Linked DNA regions of Homo sapiens: all the other regions are linked to region 3. The links are contacts of gene promoters, found by promoter capture Hi-C in blood cells and fetal thymus (Javierre and others, 2016). All regions are on one chromosome and are shown on one strand. Each heading gives the region's core, a stretch centred on a gene start or on the middle of the fragment in contact. The rest is flanking DNA. Distances are from core to core; before and after follow the strand shown.

Region 1 (2,783 bases), core at 284-2,783, 760 kb before region 3:
TTGTATTTTTTTTAGTAGAGACAGGGTTTCTCCATGTTGGTCAGACTGGTCTCGAACTCCCGACCTTGGGTGGTCCGCCCGCCTCAGTCTCCCAAAGTGCTGGGATTACAGGTGTGAGCCATGCCCAGCCTATTATTCATTTTTTTAAAGAGACACTGTCTTCCTGTCACCTAAGCTAGAGTATAGTGGTGCAATCATAGCTAACTGTAGCCTCAATATCTTGGGCTCACCTCAACCTCCTGAGTAGTTAGGACTACAGCTGCACCATCGTGCCTGGCTAATTTTCACATTTTTTGCTAGAGATGGGATCTTACTATGTTGTCCAGGATGGTCTCAAACTCCTGACCTCAAGTAATCCTCCTGCCTTGGCCTTCCAAAGTGCTGGGATTACAGGTATGAGCCACCACACCCAGCCAAAACATTAGTTTTAAACTATCCAGTGGATGCCCATTTTTCATATAACAGTTTCCTCTTATTATATTACTGATTAATTCAGATAACTAACCTGTAGCACTAACAATAACATAGCAGCTGTTATTGATACAGGAGCTAGAAAGAAATTATTTAGGCAGATAGTGAGGGTAAGAGTCCTCAGCAAGGCTTTCCTTTTAATGAAAAGCAGCCCCCAAATCGTTTGTTTCCTAACAAAGAGCAGCCTGTAAAATTGAGCTGCAGACATAGACAAGCAAGCTGAAAGCTTGCACAGATGAATCCCTGCAGCTGTGCTAATAGGAGAAAGCTACCTGGGGGCCAGGCATGTGCAACATGGAGGATCCATCTTCTCTTTTCTTTGTCAACCATGTGTGCAGTAAAGAAGCAGGCAACAACGTGGTGCTGGCCAGGTAGAAACCTCATCTTCATGATAAAAGATTAGGGTGAGATGGTCAGCTTCTTCACACACTATGCTGATTTAAATGATTCAGAGATCATTTCAATTTTGCAAATGGCACACCTGGTTCAAGCAATCTCTTGTGCTTATGTTTGTTTGAGACGGAGTCTCGCTTGGTCGCCCAGGCTCGAGTGCAGTGGCGCGATCTCGGCTCACTGCAACCTCCACCTCCTGGGTTCAAGCAATTCTTCTGCCTCAGCTTTCCGAGTAGGTGGGATTTCAGGCGCCTGCCACCACGCCCAGCTAATTTTTGTATTTTTAGTAAAGACAGGGTTTCACCATATTGGCCAGGCTGGTCTCGAACTCCTGACCTCGTGATCCGCCCGCCTTGGCCTCCCAAAATGTTGGGATTACAGGTGTGAGCCACCGCACTCAGCCCTCTTGTGCCTATGTAAATCAGACATTGCCTCCTCAAGCTCGTCCATAAAACCCCACACATGGCCAGCCGCGGTGGCTCCCACCTATAATCCCACACTTTGGAAGGCCGAGGCGGGCAGATCACGAGGTCAGGAGATTGAGACCATCCTGGCCAACATGGTGAAACCCAGTATCTACTGAAAATACAGAAAAAGGAAAAAAGGTTTTAGAACTCCCTGAATGGAATTTAGTTGTTCTGCTCTCTTCCATGCATATCTTTTTCAGAGATCAGTTAAATTTTGTTGAGTAGATTTTTTTGCATGTTTCTCTTCTAGGTCACGGGAGTTTATACTATATAAATGTAAATAGATAACTGTTGCAAGTCATTTCTTTGCAATAACAGGTTACATGATCATAGTTGAAACAAAAACAGATACTAAAACAATAAGAGAGCATGCAGAAATATTCTGATGCAAATGTATTTGATGATTTGATTTCCTTCACTCTGGAATATACTACAGAATGTACTAATATAAATGTGCTTGCCTATGTCTAATCTAGAATATAATTATCCTGAACTCTACATGGTATTTTAGTCTAGAAAGTACTGTAGCTTCTCTGAGTTCTAAATCAAACCAGGAAACAGCAGAGGGCGCTGGTGCTGTGCTTTTGCAAGTGAGATGTGTGCTCATTTCAAGGGTCCACAAAATTTTCTGGCATGCTGTTTCCATGGAGAGGAAAGTAGGTGTTTTCTTTTTCTTTTTTTTTTTCAGTCAAGCCACCTGCAAACTGCAATGTGTTCTTTTAGTGATTTCTTTTTATATCTATGTTTTCCAGGAAGGTTCTGTTGAGCCTACGCAGTCACTTAGAAACAAGAAATATTTGAGAAATTTCTATGAAGTCAAATATGCATTATGTCTCCCACTCTCCAAAATATAACAAAACAAAACAAAACAACTAAACACCCTTGAATGGTATGGCTTACTCTGTTCTTGAACCATATGAGCACCTACTGTTTGTTGATTCCATGTTAAACCAACAAAAAGATACTGAGCAGGCTTATGTTCAATGTATGTATTGAGCACCATTTTGCGCATATCAAATGCTTGAAACTGAAGCTTGAAATGTCAGTAAACTCCACAAGGGGTCTCTACATAAACTTTTTTTCTTTCTTTCTTTTTTTTTTTTTTCAGATGGAGTGTCGCTGTCGCCCAGGCTGGAGTGCAGTGGCACGATCTTGGCTTACTGCAAGCTCCACCTCCCGGGTTCACGCCGTTCTACTGCCTCAGCCTCCCAAGTAGCTGGGACTACAGGCGCCCGCCACCACACCCAGCTAATTTTTTGTATTTTTAGTAGAGATGGGGTTTCACTGTGTTAGCCAGGATGGTCTCGATCTCCTGACCTAGTGATCTGCCCGCCTCAGCCTCCCAAAGTGCTAGGATTACAGGCATGAGCAACCGCTCCCGGCCTGGTCTCTACATAAATTGATCACAAGTTTTTGTAGAATAACAGTATAAAAAATAGTATAAAGCACATA
Region 2 (2,700 bases), core at 186-2,685, 680 kb before region 3:
AATAGAACACATTTGTTTTTAAATTTTTTTCTTTTTATTTCATAGGTATAAAGTGGAAAAGTAGAATGTAAAACTATATTTGGGTTTATATCAATGATATATAAAAATTTATATCTGTGCATCAAAAAATTGGAAAGCTATAAATGTTACAGTAATAACTCCTGGATGGTAGGATTGTAGACAATTTTATTTTCGTTGTGCTTTTCTACGATTTCTAGTTTTTCTAAGATAGAAGTATATTTTTGTAGGATGAAAAAATTATTTAAAAACGAAAGATTCTTACGTGTTCAGGGGGCTAAGTCTATAAGTGCATTTTGTTCTAAATTCTCATCGATTAAGAATGTACTTGTTTTTATGGGTGAATTTGTACTTCATTAGTGTGGAAGTTTGCTGTTTTGGAGGGATATATTCATTGCCGTAACTAAAAAGCAGTTCCATGCCACTAGGGCTCCTTGTTTTGTCTGATGAAGTTTGTAGTTGCAGGAGTAGCTTTAGCAGGGCTTTCACCTGTCGTTGCCCTGCCCCTCTCCTTCACTCATTTGTTTCTCATCTTGACCGTAAACCACATGTTATCTTGGGAAATGTTTGTTTCATGTGAAAAAGTAAAGCTTTTGTGAGTACGTATGGCTGTGATCATTAATTAGAGAGATGTTCCTGAAAACTTGAATATGGTGATAGTTTTAAAATAAGCCATTTTGTGGTGAATGCAGTAAGACACAATCTGTGGAAAGCTGTAAATTACTTGTGAAAAACTAGTATAGATTATTCATTTGTAAGAGTAAGAATTTGTTTAATGAGTGCTTCTAGGTTCTTTCAGCTTGCAGGTTTTTATGTTATGTGTCAATTCTGTTTTTAATAGGTTATCTCATCTGAGATTCAGAAATTAATTTCCTTTTTTAGTAAGACAAGTTTTCTCAAACATTTAGATGTGTTTATAATGTTTTATTGACTAGAGTCTTAGAAAGGATAAGTGAAAAGCTAAGTGTCAATGAAAAATTGTTTTCAGGATCCTAGGATCTTGGGATTCATCATTAGATCATTGTGAATTAAATTTTTTCTCTGAATCTCATTAATTTGATTTAACATCTACTTTCCCCACCAAAGCCTAGCTGTGTTTAAAAATCATGTTTATAGTTGATCCTCATGTTATTTAAATGTATCTGTCTAATGTTAATTGCTGGCACTATAATCATTAATCATTTTAAAAGAAAATTTTTGAAAATTAACAATTTTGTTAACTAAAAAAATGAAGGGATTGTACTTCCTGAATTTTGAGATCGCTTTAAACAGTAAAATGACAGAAATATGTGATCAACTGTTTTTTTCTGTGAGAGGCCTTAGTGCCTGGCTTCTTTGTCTCCAAGTGCCTGGGGCCATACAAAGGCAGTTAAATGGGTTTCTTGAAGATTTTGGGAGGAAGGGACATTTTTATATTAAGTCATGTATATTTTGAAGTAAAATTACAAAATGTGTGTGTTTATGCCAAACCAGTAACATTCAGAGAACTTTTATTGTTGCAGAAGGCATCTTTGATCATACCCCTAGATTCGCTAGAGAATTTGCATTTACTTCCAGGTGTGGAAAAGTCTGAGAAACTTCTTTAACATATGGGGTTTTGTGCCTTTCATAAATATTAGCTATATAGTCACGCTTGTTTTAGTTGAGATTAAGAGGCAAATAGGAATTTAACTTTATGTTTACTCTTTTTTCTTTGAGACTTAGTCTTACTCTGTTGCCCAGGCTGGAGTGTAGTGGCGCGATCTCGGCTCATTGCAGCCTTCGGCTCCCAGGTTCAAGCGTTCTCCTGCCTTGGTGTCCCAAGTAGCTGAGACTACAGGTGCCTGCCATCATGCCTAGCTGATTTTTTTGTATTTTTAGTAGAGACAGGGTTTCACCATGTTGGCCAGGCTGGTCTCGAACTCCTGACCTCAGGTGATTGCCTGCCTCGGCCTCCCAAAGTGTTGGGATTACAGGCATGAGCCACTGTGTCCGGCCTATGTTTACATTTTTTAAAGAAAAATTTCAGACATATACAAAATGGACAGATAGTCTATTAGTCACTCATGGAACCATCAGTCACCTCTCACCTTCAACAGATATTTCCTGCCAGTTTTTAGGAATTTAATATCATTAAGTTATTTGCTAAGATTTGCCAAGATAAGTATCTGTAAGGTCAAGGTACTGACATCAGAAGCATTTCTGAACAGAGATGTTGCAGTTGGTGGGTGGGTATGACAGTGTTCAGCTGTTGGATAAGCTTGCATAAATAGTATCATCTTGACTTTAATCTTTCGGTTGTTCAGAGGTAGTGTGCATATTTCTGTTTAACTCCTGGAAAGTTGCCAAAATAATTTGTATCCTCTTTCCATCCTTTGTACCTTGACTGTTTTAGTCTGGGAATAAAATCAATGAGTTGATATTAGGAGCCTGTTGGATAGAACCAATGAGAAGAAAAATCTTCATTTTTCTATTTAAAAAACTTTTGGGTATTACCTGGCTATAATATTTTGGACACTATAAAATCTGTTTCACTTTTCATCTATTTGGGAATGCATTTTACAAACAGAACGGGGTCAAACATGGGTTGAAATCTCAGCTGGCCTTAGATAAGTACTCCAGGTCACTTCTCTCAAATGTAAAATGAGGATATAGGTTGTTCTGCGAATTAAACAAAATAATACCTTCAACATTTATTATTTT
Region 3 (3,026 bases), core at 47-2,546:
AAGATATTTTAGATGCGCCTTTAGGAGCTTAGTTTTTCCTCCTTGGGATAACTTTAAATTCAGATCTCAGCAGAACAAACGCATTTTTCAGGGCAAGCCAACTGCTAATCCGAGTAGATCTAAACGCTAACGAAGGCAGCCGACGGAAGCTGCTCCATGAAGACACGAAAACTATCAGACTTGCATTTTGCCACATTCCTGGAATAAACTTATTACTCATAAAGGTGATTTTGAAGCCATTTCAGCTTGTGGAATGATCACCGAAATGCAGTCCACCGATATTTGTTAATATCCCAGGCTGGTCAAACCCCACTCCAGACCTTGGGGGACGGGGAGGGGACCCGCGGCCTCTCTAGGCTGTGCCCAGACAGCAGACAAGGACGCGATGCCGCCCTCGGTCCGCGGCCTTCCGCGGTAGGCGTCCCTCTCAAGCGTGGTAAAACCACCCCGAAGGGAACAGAAAACGTTAAAATCTTCGTTGGGCGCCAGCAGGCAGGTTAGGCCTCGCCCTGGCATCTCGTCTCCAGGACCAGATGGAGCGAGTGACCCGCGGGGACACCTTCCCGGTCACCTCGAGCGCAATAAAACAAGTTCTTTTTTTAAAAATAAGCATCCGTGTGCCTGCCGGCTAAATTAAGTGTGTCTGAAGAGAAGCAGGATGGCGGCCGCTATTTATAACCTCCCGCCCCGCCCGGGCGCCACTCCTCGACAGCACCCACGCTGTGCCCGGCGGCGCTTCCGCGGGGACTTCCTGCTCGGTGGTCCCCGCCCCGCCCCGCGCCAGCCGTCCGGAACCCGCGTCCCCAGGCGGCTGCAGGCGGGCGAGACCTAGGTGCCCGACGCCCACGCGCCTCCGACCGTGGGAGCGCCCGGAGAGCAGCTACCTCGCCGGGCCTGCGAAGCCCAGGACAGGCGCGAGCGGGGCGCGGGCTGGCGCATCTGCGTGCGGTGGGCGCCCCGCAAGCGGGTCGGGCCCGCCCCAACAGCCCTCGGCTCTCCTCTCACGTCCCGCGCGGGCATGCCCCGGAGTGCGTAGGCGGCAGGGAAGAGCCCCCGCGTCCACATCCCCAGGGCCCGCGCAGGTGCGGGATGGGGATGCAGGCGCTAGGCATGGACGTGCGCGCGGGGTAGGGTGTGGAATGCGGACGCGGGCGAGTGCTGTGGCTGCGCGTACAGGGTAGGGATGCGGGGGCGGTAGGTGTGCGTGCTGGGAAGCGCGCGGGGCGGGGCTGTTCGGAGGCGGCGGGGGCGTGGCGCGGCGTCCTGAGCTGCAGCTTGGGGGCGTCGGGCGCAGCGCACACTGGGGCTGCAGGGATGGCGATCAGGGCGGGGAGGTCGGGCCCTGGCGCGGGGCGCACGCGTGAAGCAGCACCGCACGTGTGAAAGGAATTCTTTTCAGAGCGGCCGGGAGCCCTGCTCCGGAGGAACGCACCCGGGTCGCCGCCGCGGCAGAGCGGGGTAAGGCGGGCCGGGCGCCCCGGAGGCCAGGCACAGGGGCCGAGGGCAGCGCGGGGCGGGGACGGGCGGGTCGGCGGCGCAGCGGAGCTGCCGGGCGAGCCCAGCGGGCTGAGACTGCCGAGCTGGGAAGCCGAGCCCCGGCACGTGTGCGGCTCCCAGCCCCCTAGGATTCTTTCAGGATTCTTCAAAAAGTTGTGGGGAGCTCGGGAAATTTGTGAGAAACTTTTGGAATAATTGATCTTCCTCCTTTGCTCCTGGAGGTCTGGAGAGCAGCGCCTCGTTTGGCTTCCCTTGATGGACAGTCCAAGGCCGAGTTTAAGTTGTTTTCCTGGGGTTGTTTTCCCCCTCGGGTGGAGGAAGCCGGGCTGTCCCGGACCGTCAGGCTGTAGGGCTCCTAGCGATGCTGAAATGCTTGAAAACTCTAAGCAGATGTCACCGCGCCAGCTAACGGCGCGCACCCAGCCGTCCACGGGCATTCAGCATCGCCGTGCTCCTAAAAGTCCTGTTGGGATTGTTTAGAAACAAGGTTGGCTCGCCTACATTTTTTTCAGAAACTTTTTAAAACTTTTTATTTTTAAGAAACACTGTAGCTATTAATGCCACGACCAGATTTCTCGACCTGTATGTTTGTTATGATGTGTTCAACTATAAGGAATTTGCAGAGGAGTGGAAAAGCACTGTCCGAGCCCCTTCCCGTAGGAGACTTGAGAAAACAAACGGCAGTGACGCGGCTGCATTTGCTTTGTTGCCGACTCCACACTAGTGAGCAAAATTCATCCTACCATGTAGAGTTCTCGGTTCGTGAATATGTGACTGCAACTTTAGAACTCCAGTTTTTATTTTATCAAGATGTCTCCAAAACATGCCATTTAAAAATGATTCTATACAAACAGCTGACAAGCGAATTATGGGTCTCATCACCCAGGAATTAAAAACCATGGTGATTTATGATGTGCGCATCACTTCACTGGCGGTCCATCCATGTGCAAGACAAACATTAAAAGATTAAAGAGGAAAAAAGAGGGATTTATTTTCCGAATATCAGTGTGTTCAAAGTAAACATCAGCTAGTTTGGCACAGATTCCACCTGCTCAGCAGTTTGGTTCATATCGAGATAAGCATCTCATAAGGGCAATGCATGTGTTGCTGTAGTGGAAAGTAATTCACGAAACGGTACTACTCTAACAAATCAGACAGTACTGTTTCTTAACCAGGAACCGTTAACTGGCTGAAAGCTGTCTTAAAAGAATGGCGGGTAACAAAATTTTTTGCCAATAAGGAAAATATTTTTGACCCAGTTTTCTTGAATGTTACTCACATTTTAACTTATTATATTCATTTCTCTTAGCTAAAATAACGTGTACACACTACATTTGAAACGAAAAATTACGTTTATCGCAGCCTTTTTTTTTTTTTTTTTTTTTTTTTTTTTTGAGATGGAGTCTCGCTCTGTCACCCAGGCTGGAGTGCAGTGGTGCGATCTCGGCTCACTGCAACCTCCCGAGTAGCTGGGACTACAGGCGTCTACCACCATGCCTTCTTCCTCCCTCCGCTGGATGGTAGCTATT
Region 4 (2,988 bases), core at 453-2,952, 660 kb before region 3:
TTGAACCATTTAAAATAAAGTAGTTATGTGGTATGTATTTTAAAATATCTAGAACAAGGTTATCTATCCATGGGTATATATAAAGGATATTTTCTATAGAAATATTCAGACTGAGCATTAAATCACCTTGTGGTTTCTTTTTAAAATCAGAGAAATGATGGCTAAAACCACTATCAAGATCAAAGAGATAATTGTAACTAAATTTTAAAATTCCGTTGCCTGCCTCATCTGACAGGAATTGTTTTGATACGAATCCAAGTCCAAGTCTTTGTATTATGCACTTGACTGAAAGTAGATTCCACTCCAGCAGTTTTTGAAAAGGTGAAAAACTTGCTGGCAGTACTGGAAACAACTCTACCAGATCTGAACAGCTGTCTAGACAAACCAGACAGCTGCTCCTGTCAGCTGTGAACAACCACACGCAAATAACTTGAATTTGAAAGTTAACCCTTTTTTGCTTTATTTGAACAATTTTTGTGTTTGTAGCTATTTTCACTTAAGCAGTTTATGAACAAGTTTGTTACTTGTTTTAAAAATGACAATGGCTAATCTTTTTATTTAACTTTGGTTAAATTTAGTTTTAGTTATATGAATTTATTGCCTACTTTAAAGCACTTTTCCACTGGATATCACTTGTGCTAGATTTGGATAAGCATCAGTATACTGTTGCATAAGAGCAAGACTTTAAATATGTTAATCATAAGACTTTAAATATGTTGGAATACTTTGGGTTGCATTCTGCCCTATAGAAGTTTACAAACTTCTTGATTTTTTTTCCTTCTATAAGGTCTTGGAAAAAAAACCCACTTTCATTGTGTTTTCTTCCTACCTTTTTGACCAGAGTCTTCTTGATCTCGCTTATGGTCTCTTCCTTCTTTGCTCATCACATAAATATTGGCATTCCTATCTTAGTTCTCAACTTTGCTGACTCTGTACACTTTCCTGTGGCTCTCTCTTTGACACGTAGGACTTCAGGCACCGGTTCCCAGATGACTCCTACATCTATATTCAGCACAGCCTGCTCCAGAGTTTCAGAGCCTTATAATCCCAGTGCTTACTGGATGTTTTAATTTGGATGGCCAACAGACATCTCAGATTTAACATGTTCCAGTAGAATTCGTCATCTTCCTTACTTGCTTCTCCTTCCTTGTCTTCCTTTTCTTGATGCATATCCTTGCCATTCATCTCACTGGGCGTCCTGCTGGGCTTTGCTTTCCCTTATCCCTCTGTCCCTTTTCCATATTCAGGTGGTGATTCAGCTTTCCGTTTTATGATACAGTTTATATTGAAATACATGTTCAGATATGGAGGAACTCTTTTGTAATGATGACATTGGAAGAAAGGCAAGAATTTATATTGTATAAAAATTAAGCATTTATTATTAGTTTTATGTGGTTTATATTTCAGGTAACATAAATTAAGCTTGAACAGCACACACCGTCTCGAAAGACAGTTATTTATTTATTTTAACTTTATTTTTAGTTATTTCATTAGCTATTTCATTGAGGGTATTCTTTCTTCTGATTGCTCGCTTCGAGACCATAATGAACATTCAAGATTGTGAGATGTATTCTTATTGTCCCAGATTACATTCTATCTGTTGACAGAATATATCCCTGGATATCATGCTTAAATGCTGATTAGATTCTAAGGCATCGTGACAAAAATTTAATTACAGATTTCGGATAAAGAACTTATAAGAGTGAGTTGTGTTCAGAAGTTTATGAACTAGACAGTGTGCATATATGAATTTGTCTATTGTACTTGGAATTTACTATATAAAACTTAAAATACATTGGAATATAGTTTGAAAAATATTTGTATTTTAGACCAAGGATTTGCAGACATTTTTTGTATAGGGCCAGATAGTAAACACTTTAGGCTTTGCAGGTCATATGTTCATATTCAACACTGCCATTGTAGTACAGAAGCAGCCATAGATGATACATAAATAAGCACGGCGGTGTTCCAGTAAAGCTTATTGATGGTCATTAAAATGTGAATGTTGGCCGGGCGTGGTGGCTCATGCCTGTAATCCCAGCACTTTGGGAGGCCAAGGCCGGTGGATCACCTGAGGTCAGGAGTTTGAGACCAGCCTGGCCAACATGGCGAAACCCCGTCTCTACTAAAAATACAAAAATTAGCCAGGCGCCGTGGCACGTGCCTGTAATCCCAGCTACTCAGGAGACTGAGGCAGGAGAATTGCTTGAACCCGGGAGGCGGAGGTTGCTATGAGCTGAGATTGCACCATTGCACTCCAGCCTGGGCAACAAGAGTGAAACTCTGTTTCGGGGGAAAAAAAAAGAATTCTGTGTAATTTCCACAGGTCACAAAATATTATTTTTATTGGTTTCCCCCCAACCATACAAAAATGGAAAAAAGAAAAAAACACAACCATTCTTAGCTCACAGCCATACAAAAACAGGCGGGGGCCAAATTTGGCTTATGGGCTGTGGTTTGTTCTAGTCCAAAGAGTATAGCATATTTTAAGCATGTCAGTAAATCAACTAACTTTGTAATGTTTAGAGATTACTTAGTGTTTTAAATTTCATTACTAGAACCTTGAGAAGTTCAGAGATTAAGGATTAAGGGACTCAGTGAACAAGGATTTATTAAGTGTTCATTGTGGCCCAGCATACCAGTGAGTACTTAAATGTTCTGACCTGAAGTAATTTAGAAACAATTTGCCTAGTCAAAGTGAATATAGCCTAAAACTATGAGTTTGATGTTACACAACATTTACAAAATAGAGAGAGAACTTTGTGTGGGAAAGAAAAGGGCTAGTTAAGTACTTCGGCAAGTACAAAATGGTACATCCAACAGTAAGTGTTGGATGGATTAAGATTAATAATGATCATATTCCTTCACTAAATTTTCCTTGGCTCTAATATGTCAGATTACAGAAATGAAACCTTTAACATCTGAGAATATTAATACTATAAAACTAGGGAGCAGTATTTCAAGAGCATTCCCTTCATACAAAACACT

The links. Contacts are between HindIII fragments. The CHiCAGO score rates a contact against its expected background, and 5 or more counts as called.
Region 1: a contact is called between a fragment that was not itself captured here and the fragment with the promoter of GJA3 in region 3, in 8 of 17 cell types (endothelial precursors, total CD4 T cells, fetal thymus and 5 more). The highest score is 7.7, in endothelial precursors.
Region 2: a fragment that was not itself captured here is called in contact with the fragment with the promoter of GJA3 in region 3 in 1 of 17 cell types (M0 macrophages); the score reaches 5.5 in M0 macrophages.
Region 4: a contact is called between a fragment that was not itself captured here and the fragment with the promoter of GJA3 in region 3, in 4 of 17 cell types (M0 macrophages, naive CD4 T cells, fetal thymus and 1 more). The highest score is 7.9, in M0 macrophages.

What each region holds. Positions count from the first base shown.
Region 1 is chr13:20,924,108-20,926,890 of GRCh38, reverse strand. No RefSeq gene overlaps it. Among named protein-coding and RNA genes, the nearest start is that of XPO4, 23 kb to the right of the region's middle. The HindIII fragment of the contact is 1,667 bases long and covers 700-2,366 here.
Region 2 is chr13:20,844,185-20,846,884 of GRCh38, reverse strand. The region is part of intron 4 of XPO4 (exportin 4); the gene reads left to right. Among named protein-coding and RNA genes, the nearest start is that of XPO4, 57 kb to the left of the region's middle. The HindIII fragment of the contact is 1,649 bases long and covers 611-2,259 here.
Region 3 is chr13:20,159,322-20,162,347 of GRCh38, reverse strand. GJA3 (gap junction protein alpha 3) reads left to right here and starts at 1,296. Exons shown (of 2, transcript NM_021954.4): 1 at 1,296-1,458. RefSeq lists silencers at 646-1,005, 1,236-1,315, 1,476-1,565. The HindIII fragment of the contact is 22,819 bases long and covers 1-3,026 here.
Region 4 is chr13:20,822,971-20,825,958 of GRCh38, reverse strand. The region is part of intron 7 of XPO4 (exportin 4); the gene reads left to right. It overlaps LOC124903129 (a long non-coding RNA gene), which reads right to left and starts at 1,015. Exons shown (of 2, transcript XR_007063711.1): 1 at 830-1,015. The HindIII fragment of the contact is 555 bases long and covers 1,425-1,979 here.